Regions from separate parts of the Homo sapiens genome. Here region 2 is linked to region 1. The links are contacts of gene promoters, found by promoter capture Hi-C in human tissues and cell types (Jung and others, 2019). All regions are on one chromosome and are shown on one strand. The core of a region is centred on a gene start or on the middle of the fragment in contact, and the rest is flanking DNA. Distances in the headings are between cores, read along the strand shown. Region 1 holds the start of CTNNAL1 (catenin alpha like 1). Region 2 overlaps LOC105376205 (a long non-coding RNA gene).

Region 1 (5,513 bases), core at 1,350-3,849:
ACATGGCCCTTGATCAAGTTTACAACTCTTTGAGAAGACATCCCTAATGGAAATACTGAATGGCAGATCTATTACTGTGGTACCATGTAGTGTGTAATAAATCTTGAAGTCCAGAAAGCAAGTATATTTGCTGTTTAGAGCTATACTTAAGGTATAGAGATTCTTTTCCACCTGTGGTGTGTAAAATCAGTATTGTGTTTAATTTTGCAGGTTTTTCAAGGATCAACTAATGTGCAAATACAGTGGTGATATATTGATATTACATTTTAATAATGCTTTTGTATGGCACTTTATAGTTTTCAGACACCTTTTGTAACAGCCCTGTGAGACAGACAATATTATCCTTATTGTACAGATGGGGGGGCTCTGGAGGCTCTGAAAAGTTTTTGGTGATATTCCCCTAAGTTTATACCACAAAATGATGGAGCCAGAATTTAGTTGCAGAACTTCTGACTCCAAGTCCAGAGTTCTTTACTAGACATCTGGTTTCTTACTAGCTTTTTGCTAGCTTTTTATTTTACAGTGAAAAGTATGGAAGCAAATCCTGATAATTTTGGCTTATTATCAAATATCATTTATTTTTTATTGCAGAGACCCAGCAGATGTAACTCTCATTGTAGCCATCCCAAAGAAAACCCTTCTTTGCCCTTTGCAGTGCCACTTATTTAGGTAACTGAAGTGTATTTCCAGTACAATTTGATTTTGAACTAAGATTTGATATAGAGTTGTAATTGCTTACATAACTCTTTGAAAATGTATCATCCCTGGGTTCTCAGGTGAAGGAGGCAATTCAAAAGTAAAAAAGAATATTCGAATACAATAAATACCCTCTGTTCTCACACAAATGCTGTTTCTTAGCTAACTTGCTTTGACAACCTACTGATGTAACTTCTTTATTAATGTGAAATATTTATATTTTGAAATAAAATTACTAGTGTTGAATGAATCATGTGGTAAACTTAATCTCCTGTGTGTTGAAAAACTTGATCTTTTGTGAAGCCAAAGTTTCATGAATCCATCCGTCTCTTAGGCCTTCTGTTATGCCATTTCCTCCGGCACCATTGTGTACACTGAATTCTTAGGAGATACTGTCAACTTCGTAAGGGAAGGTGTGTCCAGGAAGTGGACACTGGGCGCCTTAAAGAGGTCAAGGGCCCTCAGTGCACAGGGGAAGGTGGCCTTGTGATAGGTAAGGAAGTGGTGAGATGGTTGGCTGAGAAGAATTGGAAGAAAAAGTTGGATTGAGGACCTGTCCTTTTTGAATGAAGAAAAAGAAGCTGAAGCTTGGCTATCTTCAATACCAAAGACAGCTGTGCAGCACTGGTAGATTGATGAAGCTGAAGCTACAGGTTGAAGCACTGTGAAGCGCCTTTCAACGGTGCTTGGGAAAGAGCTTTCTTATGCCTCAGGTTGATGTACCCAGCTCATCAATCTGGTGTTATGGAAGAAGAAATGATCCAGGCCAAGGTGTCCGGGTGGACTGGCCAGCCTCAGATTCTTTTTTACTCTGACAGGTTCTCACTGGCAGATATGGTAGTTGACAAAACATTTTTTCATGCTTCTCAGTCTGTTGCTTAAGTCTGGAATTCCTTCACGGCGTGCATACTGCTGACAACCTCCTTTTGGCCTTGCTCCTGGAGACCTTAGAATAGGAGTCTTCAGCTCCCCGCCCCCATCGTGGGGCTCTGTGCGAGCTCAGAGTTGTGCTTACAGAACTGATTCTTACCCTTCCCCTCAAGTGAGTTGTCAGAAATACACACTTGGTGTTTTCATGCAATGAACAGTTATGAAGAAACTGCTCTGTGCCTGGCACTAGGAAAAAACTTCGAAAAATAGTTTTAAGAAGTAGTGTTGAACAGTAGATGAGGCTTTTTCATGTTTCTTTTAAATTTCTTTTGAATAAGTCTAAACAGTAGTGTGAAAGATATACTGACTTCCTGCCGAATACCCAGATACTCCATTAATGATTGCATTATCAAATGTTTCCCCTTCAATCCAGCTCAAAGTGTTTGTGAGAAATACATGGTGAAAGAATGAGCAGGGTGGAGTGGAAATTGGACCTTCCGGAGAAGCCCCAGGAAGACATTACCACTGGAATTCCCGTCCCAGGGGAAAGGCCCCTCCCAACAGACTTGATTCTGGTTTTGGTCTACCAGTTTCAACCCCAGCACAGCTTCCAGAAGTCTTTGCGGGAATTCAGAGCTGATTTAGGACGAGTCACCTATCGAGAGGACGGGAAGCTTTGCTGGGGACGCTTGTCTGTCCAAGTAAGAGGAGGCCATGTGGCTGTGTGACAGATGTGTTTTGTTTCTCCTCGCCACCCTGGCGAGAAGGTGCCTGGAACCCATGGAAGGGGTCTGAGAAGAGATAAGGGCGGGGCCATGTGGGGGCGGGACCCGGCTTAGGGGGTGGGGTTGCAGGGAGCCCACACCAGGCTGGACTGCGCGGGCGGGGCAGAGGCCGGGGGTGGGCGGGGACATACGGTGACGGGCGTCGGGGACGCAGGGTTGGCGGCGGAGCCCTGGGGGGGCGGGCCCCTGGGGGCGGGGTCTCGGTTGGCGCGAGTGTCCTGTCGCCGCCGCCTCGGGCGGGTGGGCTGACTGGCGGCAGGCTCGCCGCGGCGCGGAGTCCCGGCTGCGGGATAGACCGAGGGCCATGGCCGCCTCTCCCGGACCCGCCGGCGTTGGCGGCGCCGGAGCAGTCTACGGCTCCGGCTCTTCGGGCTTCGCCCTCGACTCGGGACTGGAGATCAAAACTCGCTCGGTGGAGCAGACGCTACTCCCGCTGGTTTCTCAGGTAAAGTGGCGCCTGGCGCGGCCCCTCTTCTCCTTCCCGCCGCGGCCCGCGATGGCGGCCGCCGCTCGCACGACCGGACGGGAGGCAGCCGCTGCCCCACTTTCCGCGCCGGCACTGCGGCGTTCTTGTCGGACCGCCTGTGTGGGGCTCCGGGACGGGCCTCGGCCCGGGCGGCGAGAGACTGGATAATCCAAACTCCGGCGGCAGGGTTGAGTGGACTCGGCAGCAGGGGAGGCTGCGGGGCGGGGGTGCCGGCCTGGGCCTTTGCCCCCAGTACCTGCCTCGGGTCTGCGGCTCCCGGGTGCCCCCGGCCGGGCGATGCCCCCTCCGCGGGGCGAGTGGTTGAGCCCAGCTCCCGAGGCAGAGAGGACCCCCGCGGGGCCCCTCGCTGGTACTTAGGGCCCTCCACGATAACCGACTTTGTCACCAGTTCGCAGCCTGGTCCCGAGCCCGGCTCCTCCGCCTGGGGTATTCCTCCCGGCCTCCCCGCCCAGCGTGCGCTCCCTGATCCTTTGTCCCTCCCCGCCGTAGGTCAGTTCGCTGGCCTCCCATTCATCCCGGCCACCCTACCCCTTCCCCTGAACCTGCTGCTGCTCACTTCTGCCCGCTTCTGTCCGGCCTCGTGGAAGAGTGACGTGGAGACTGTATGACAGTTAATCCAGATGCACACCGTTTTGCCAAGTCCCGTTTGGGATGTGTGCGTTACTGTATTTGCCAATCAGCTAACCGACGCCCTGAGTTTTAGGAAAGTTTTTGTTTCTCTGAGCTGGGTTATATGCAGCTTCAGGGCTAGAATTCCTCACTTAGGTCTGTGGTAAGATGCCAAGCACTGTGGGGAGTGAATTCTGTGCCTTCGGGAGCGCGTTGGCGATGTGTGACTCACATCTAGGTTGTAACCACTTCGTGACTCATACTAGGATTACCAAGATTTTAGAGGTAGAAGAAATCTTAAAGATTATCTGACTAAAAATTCTTTCTTTAGCATCCTTGACACCTGGCCACCAGTACCCTGCTTAAACATGTTCAGTGAAGGGGAGCCTGTAGCTGTTGCATAGAATTCTAAATGCTATTATCTCTTCTCCTGCCCAGCCCTGCGCATATTTGAAAACAGCAGTTACACATGTCCCTGGATTCCTGTTATGCTGGTTAAATAAACATCCCTATTTTCTTCACCTTCGCATGGCTAACGGAGCAGTGATGAATATATCTGACACTCTCCTTCCCTTTTCCTGTGTCTCATTGAGGCTCTGACCAGTGGGAAGGGGCACTGGGATCCCTCAGTAATGTCAGACCCTCCGCTCCTCGCCTATCTCCACTAGCACAACACAACCAAAACGAGAAACACTGGAGCAGTTTTAAGAGGCAGAGAGATAAGAGAGTGATGGAGTTCAAGTTGATAGTATTTTATCCATTTTTTAAATAACACCTATGTAATGCTTACTATGTGGTAGGCCAGGTTCTAAGCACTTTGTAAATATTAACTCATTAATTCTCATAACAATCATGTGAAGTTGGTATATATTCTCGTGGTATGGGAGAGGAAACTGAGGAATACTGAGGTTAAATAATTTGTTGTTAGGGCTTTCAATAAGTGCCAAACTGGGATTTGAATCCAGGTACCCTGGCTCCAGAAGGTTCTCTTTGCTACACTATGCTGTGTCCTCTCTAGAGATTAGAAGCAGTAATGAGATCTAGAGAAAAAGATGGTACATAGTGGAAAAACAAGCTAGAAAGTCATAATCTGGAGAAATGGCAACTTTTCACAGTATCCACTGCTAAAAATGTATCAGTCTTACAGCTCTGCATTGTGTAACTCTGGGGTAAAAGAAGCCAGAGAAGGGTAGGAGAGCAGAGGAAGAAAAGTATAAATCACTGCTGAGAGTTAGAGGTCAATGCCAAAGGGGAAGAATGCCTGCCTTTTTTTTTTTTTCTTTTTCCAGTTAAAGCCTTGTTCAGGGTCACAGCTGAGGTTTTGCATCCCACACATTGTGTATCTACAGCTACATCTCTACCACAACACCATAACTGATATTCCTCATAATTGACTGTCCTTAACAAGAAAAAGTTAAAATCAAGAAGTGTATTAAGCATGGCCAGAATACTCGGTTAACAAAGCAGGGAAGTACAATTTAGAATGATTTTAAAGTTTCAGTGTTAGGAGATTAAAACAGCAGTTCTCCAGAAAACTCATATGTCCACAAGTCTCATTTTCTGAGAATGCTGTATTATTACCCAACTCATGTTTCACCATCTCATCCACAAGGATATTTTAAGCATTTTAAGCAAGGATTTATTGTGTGCTTATTTGTTGCTGTTTTTTGAGGGGCTTATATTCTAGTTGGTAGATAGGTCATGTATAGAACAGCACATGCAAAGTGTCAAATGAACATCATCAATGGTACATACTCTAAAAGCTCAGAGAAGGCATGGATGAGTCAGCAGTGATGTCATGGAGGAGGCAGGGTTTTGAGGTAAACAAGTAGGACTGGCACTATACGGTTTAAAGTAGACAGTTTCTATTCTGGTATCATCTAGCTTCTTCTGACTCTCCAAGTGAAAAGTCCTGGGTTACTGGCCTTATTCTAAGAATGCAAGATTTTATCAATATTAGAAAAATGTGTATAGTTTTTTTTGCATTCACAGATTATAAAAGATGTATTTTCCTAACAATGATGCAGAAAAAGCATTCAACTAAATTCAGCTTCTAATAATGATAA
Region 2 (5,513 bases), core at 1,251-3,750, 1.4 Mb after region 1:
GATTCTTATTGAGCTCCCTGGTCTTTTTCACACCTCGTGGTGTTGAAGTCACTGGGTTCCCACCATGTGTTAATGCTATTGTTTACTTGAGCCCAGATGCAGAAATTGACATCAATCTCTATTGATATCTCATCAGCCTAGATTGGGCTTATCTTTTCAGCCTCTGAAGAGCTTTGTAGAACCTGTCTTCCAAACAGCACCTTCACTGTTCCCTTAGACTATCAGGAACTCTAAAATGACATGGTCAATTTCTCCCAAGGTTAACCCAGTTCCTCCTTGCAAGATAAATTTATTTCTGTTCCTCTAGTTGCATCCTCTGTGTTCTGGGAGATGAAATGATCTATGTTACACATCAATAGTGTCTATTTTCTCTAATCATTATTGGTAAGAGTATAAGTCAAAACAGCTTCTGGAAGGCAATTGGAGAATGTTTATAAAAATGTTAAATGTAAATAATCTTTAACACCAAAATTACCCTTCTCTCTATATATATTTTTATGCACTGTTTTATATAATTTGACTTTCAGGATGACTTCCTAGGAGGTGGTGGGCTGTATTTGGCTCATGGGCAATAGTTTGCCAACTCCTGATCTACACCTATGTCAAGTGCATTTTTCTTTCCCTACTTGCTGCTTGCCATCTGTTGCGTATACTTTGCATCAGTTAGTTTTTGCTGTATAACAAATAATCCCAAAACTTAGCGTTCAACACAACAACTGTTTATTTGTGTATGATTCTGAGAGTCAACAGTTTGAGTGGGGATCAGCTGTGACAGCTCATGTATTCCATGTGGAATCAACTGGGCCCCCTCATTTACCTGAGATCTGCTGGCCATCAGCAGCCTCAGACATCTGGCTTTCAGCAGGGTGATGGAAGCAACTGGGCTATGTGTCTCTTGTCATCCAGCAGGCTGCCCAGGGCTTATTCATGTGCTGGTGGTTGCAGTGTAACCAAGGGCATCAGGAGAAGGCAATTCTCAACCTGAAGCATTTTTCAAGCCTCTGACTGCATCACATTTGCTACTCTCTTACTGACCAAATAAGTCACATGTTGGAATCATGGCCAAGGCAAGATGGTAGGGCTGGAGAAATAGATGTCACCTCCTGATGAGAGGAATTGCTGTTACATCACACAGGGATATACATACAGGGTGGGGAATAATTTGTGACCATTTTTGCAATCAGACTAATTCCATCAACAATTTCACCTCAGGTCCTTTCACCTTCCAGGAGCTCTGTCAGGCATCTCCTGCTCAGACAAGTGGCCATCCTGCACAGAGGACCGTTCCCCCTCTCCTTGAGATGCTCCTTGGTTGATATCTTTTTGGCCAAGAAGCACTAACCTCAATGCATCTTTTTCAGATACAGAACCGTAATTCTTTTCCTCACCTGCAGCCAATTATTTCTTAACCAGGAAAAGCAATTTGAGCAGCTCAAAGACTCCTCAAAATATTTCTCCACTCTCTGATTTCCCACTTCAAAACTTGTATTTAAATTATTAGCCTGCATTACTTCCCATTCACTGAATTTTCCCTGCTCTCCATGTGTTCATTTTCAGCCCTTTTAATAAATGAAGATTATAAAACTGGGACAGTTCCCATGATAACACATTGGTTTCTTTCAACCTCTTTACTCTCACATGCCGAGGGAACCACCCAGTCAACTGAGGCTCGTTATAATCCTGTCTGTGAAGAGAGATCATGCCTGCTTCACTCACCCTCCTTCCAAAATTGCCTTTCTCTCTCTGTGTGTGTATATATATCTGTATATATATATACATTTTTTTGAGATGGAATCTCACTCTGTTGCCCAGGCTGGAGTGCAGTGGTACAACCTCTGCCTCCGGGGTTCAAGTGATTCTCCTGCCTCAGCCTCCTGAGTAGCTGGGACTACAGGTGCACACCACCACTCCTGGCTAATTTTTGTATTTTTAGTAGAGACAGGGTTTCACCATGTTGGCCAGGATGGTCTCAATCTCCTGACCTCATGATCCACCCACCTCGTCCTCCCAAAGTGTTGGGATTACAGGCCTGAGCCACCACGCCCAGCCCTCTCTATATATTTCTTATTCACCTTCCTTCCCCCAACACCATATATGACATCACTGGCAGTCTTTAAAAGAAAAGACAAATCTTGCTCAACAACCATCATTGATAGAGATATTGCCGGACAGCTGAAGTGTGAGGAAAGCACTACATGTAGAGCCGGAAGGTCCAATCAGGTTCAGAACCAGTGTCCACCGCTATCCATGCAAGCAAACAGAATAATATAGAGAACAATAGAGTGCTCCATAAATGTTCGTTCATTCAAGTTTGTCCGCCATTGTATGCAAAGCACTGTAGAAGGGGCCATACAAGGTTCAGAGATCAGTGAGACCCAGCAGGGAGCTCATAATATGGTGGTGAGTGAAAGCTCACAGCCCTATTTAAATTCTCAAATAAAACAATGATATAAGAAGAAAGAAACTCTTAAACATGCCTCAACTTCTGAGCTTAATAAGGAGAAAATGCATAACAATGACAATGATGTCAAATTCATTCTGTCATCCAGACCATCCCCGACTTTAGCCCCAACCCAAGTCCTGACTTGAGTCCTACGGAATAAACACTCCCATGTCAGTCCACTGAGAGTATGACTTTCCTGCATTTCATCCTTGATAGGCAATATCTCAAAAAGGGCTTGGAAAGTTCAGCTCATCCAAGGAGCAGAGAAAACTAGATAATGAGATTATGGAGTCACAAATGACAACTACTTTCATGAGAGAATATCTGGATAAAGAAAAATAGGCCAGGTGGGGTGGCTCATGTCTGTAATCCCAGCACTTTGAGAGGCTGAGGCAGGCAGATCACTTGAGGCCAGGAGTTCAAGACCAGCCTGGCTAACATGGCGAAACCCAATCTCTACTAAAAATATAAAAACTAGCTGGGCATGGTAGTGAACGCCTGTAATCCCAGCTACTGGGAAGGCTGAGGCACAAGAATCGCTGGAACCCAGGAGGTGGAGGTTGCAGTGAGCCAAGACCGTACCACTGCACTCCAGCCTGGGCAACAGAGCAAGGCTCTGTCTCAAAAAACAAACAAACAAACAAAAAAAAGTGCAGAGAGCAAAGGCGACTATCTTTTTACAAGAAATACAGGCAGTTTCATTTAGGCGAATATCACTTAGTTGTTTCTTTTCATTTCTGAAAAAAAAAATGACAAGAGAAAATTAAAAATAGAGAGTCAGTTTAAATTAGGGTCAATGGTAAACCCAACCTGTTATTTGGGTGAATATAAGCAAATTAACTTAAGCTCTCTGAACTTGGAATGTTTATAAAATGGGGATAATTGTGTTTATAATCTCTGATAATATATCAACACCTAGTCAAGAGCACTACAAAAATAAGCAAATAAATGACAAATGTACTCTACTTCTTGCTCGTTAGTATCCCCAGAGTGGTCTTTAGGAGGAAGAGAGAATGAATTCTGTGCCTAAGATGAGCCAGGTGCTTTCCATGGAACAATCCCATTTCTCAACTCTATTTATCTTCAGTTTTCCAGACTAGGAACACGAGGGTCAGAGAAGTTAGTCTACTGAACCAAGATCACAGCGCTACTAAGTGGCAGGTCTTCCTGACTCCAAAACTAATGCTCTAAGTCACTCTCCAAATAGTGCTAACTATAGCACAGGCTAGAACAGAATATGGCTTTGGTGCCCCATGGGGAATGTTTATCCTGCAGAGACACCTGGATTAGAGGTTGGCTGGCTGTCCCCAGAGAAGGGAATCTGGCAGGGCTGGTGGAAGTGTCTGGCAGGCACCCTGGGGAGCTGTGTTCAGTCTGGCCTCATGCAGTCTGCACCGATGAGCAGGAAGAGGGTGTAGCACAGGCTGTAATGAAGTCCACAGATGCTGGAGGCGTATTGTAAACACCAGTGGGCATGAGTGACCAGGAGGGTGGAGGAACAAGGAGGCTGTGCTGGCAGCTCAGAGTGTGTAGAAATATGGGCAAGAAGTAATGAAAGAAAAACTCCATCCCCAGGGCTTGTTTGGGAACACAGCAGCCCAGACACTCTCTGAACAAGAAGCAAGGGTCTGTAGAGGCACGTGTGGCCCTGAAGCCACAGGGAGAACTCCCGGAAAACACAGATGAGGCAGAAACTTAGGGCTCTGAACTACAAGCCTCCATCCATCAGCGAGTGTCTGCCGAGCACTTCTGGGTACAAGACTGCAGTGAGAGTCAGAGTCTAAGATTTGGTCCCTGTTCGCCAAATAACAGTATTATTAACATCAACTAATTTGAATCCTGATTCCCCTGCATACTAGCTGGATGACTTAGCTAATCACTAACACCTTAAAGCTTTACTTTTCTCATCTGCAAAATGGGTATAATAATTAATATCTCCCACACAGCGCCTTTGTGAAGATTCAATGATATAATGGTTCTTAAAAAAACTGAAACAGAAAAATGACTGGCCATAATGCCCAAGCTAAATCCTGAATAAAGACTGGCTGCTCAGGTTATTATTATTAAACCTCTCTTACAGCCCAGACACCAGATTTGATATTGTCCAGGTACTGGCAGAAAGCAGATGACATACTGGTCTGGGATACTTAAAATAAATTATATTAAAGGGACTATTTGTCAAGGTCTGGGTAGGATTGCATGGAATAACAATGTATTTTGAGACACTCTGGGACTAAGAAGGCTGAAGACCTAATTCCTCCTCAACCCTATGCCTGGCTAAGAGCTGGAGCCCAAGGAGATTGGCAGCCACCACTGGGAGCTGGAGCTGGATCGTGGAGGCTGTGATGTGTGATGTATCATTGGTCAGACCAAGCTGAAGCAAAGGGGAGCCTTATTTTATTTTTTTTTTGAGATGGCGTCTCGCTCTGTTGCCCAGGCTGGCATGCAATGGCGTGATCTTGGCTCACTGCAACCTCCATCTCCCAGGTTGAAGTGATTCTCCTGCCTCAGCCTCCCGAGTAGCTGGGACTACAGGCACGTGCCACCACGCCCGGCTAATTTTTTGTATTTTTAGTAGAGACGGGGTTTCACCATGTTAGCCAGGATGGTCTCAATCTCCTGACCTCGTGATCCACCTGCCTCGACCTCCCAAAGTGCTGGGATTACAGGCGTGAGCCACAGTGCCTGGCCAGAAGGGAGCGTCTTTCTCCTCCCACATGCCCCCAATCTTCTGCCGCTATTCCCACTAGCTAAGTTCCAGGGGATGGCTGAGGCCAAGGAGTGCTGTCGCAGTCGACTTCCAGGCACCAACGGAGAAGGGCAGGGAAGGGTAGAACATGGGGATGGGGATGGGAAACGAACAGGACAACTGGTGCAGCTCCAAAACTTGTTTACTGGTCTCATTAACCCCATGGAAGTTGATGGCATGTCTTCCTTTTTCCGATAATGAAACTTGGCTCAGAGAGGTACAGCACTCAGATGCCCAGCTAAAAAAAGTGAGAAGCCTCCATCAGAATCCAAATTCAATTCACCCCACCATGATTGTGCCAGTGTTGACAGAATGGATTGG

The links. Contacts are between HindIII fragments. The study calls those that stand out against the background at their distance.
Region 2: a contact is called between a fragment that was not itself captured here and the fragment with the promoter of CTNNAL1 in region 1, in 1 of the 25 tissues and cell types used here (lymphoblastoid cells).

The regions. Positions count from the first base shown.
Region 1 is chr9:109,010,585-109,016,097 of GRCh38, reverse strand. CTNNAL1 (catenin alpha like 1) reads left to right here and starts at 2,599. Exons shown (of 19, transcript NM_003798.4): 1 at 2,599-2,796. The coding sequence starts at 2,656. It overlaps TMEM245 (transmembrane protein 245), which reads left to right. Exons shown (of 18, transcript NM_032012.4): 18 at 1-963. RefSeq lists a silencer at 2,357-3,246 and an enhancer at 2,908-3,411. The HindIII fragment of the contact is 6,778 bases long and covers 1,763-5,513 here.
Region 2 is chr9:107,651,780-107,657,292 of GRCh38, reverse strand. The region is part of intron 8 of LOC105376205 (a long non-coding RNA gene); the gene reads right to left. Among named protein-coding and RNA genes, the nearest start is that of KLF4, 160 kb to the right of the region's middle. The HindIII fragment of the contact is 4,958 bases long and covers 22-4,979 here.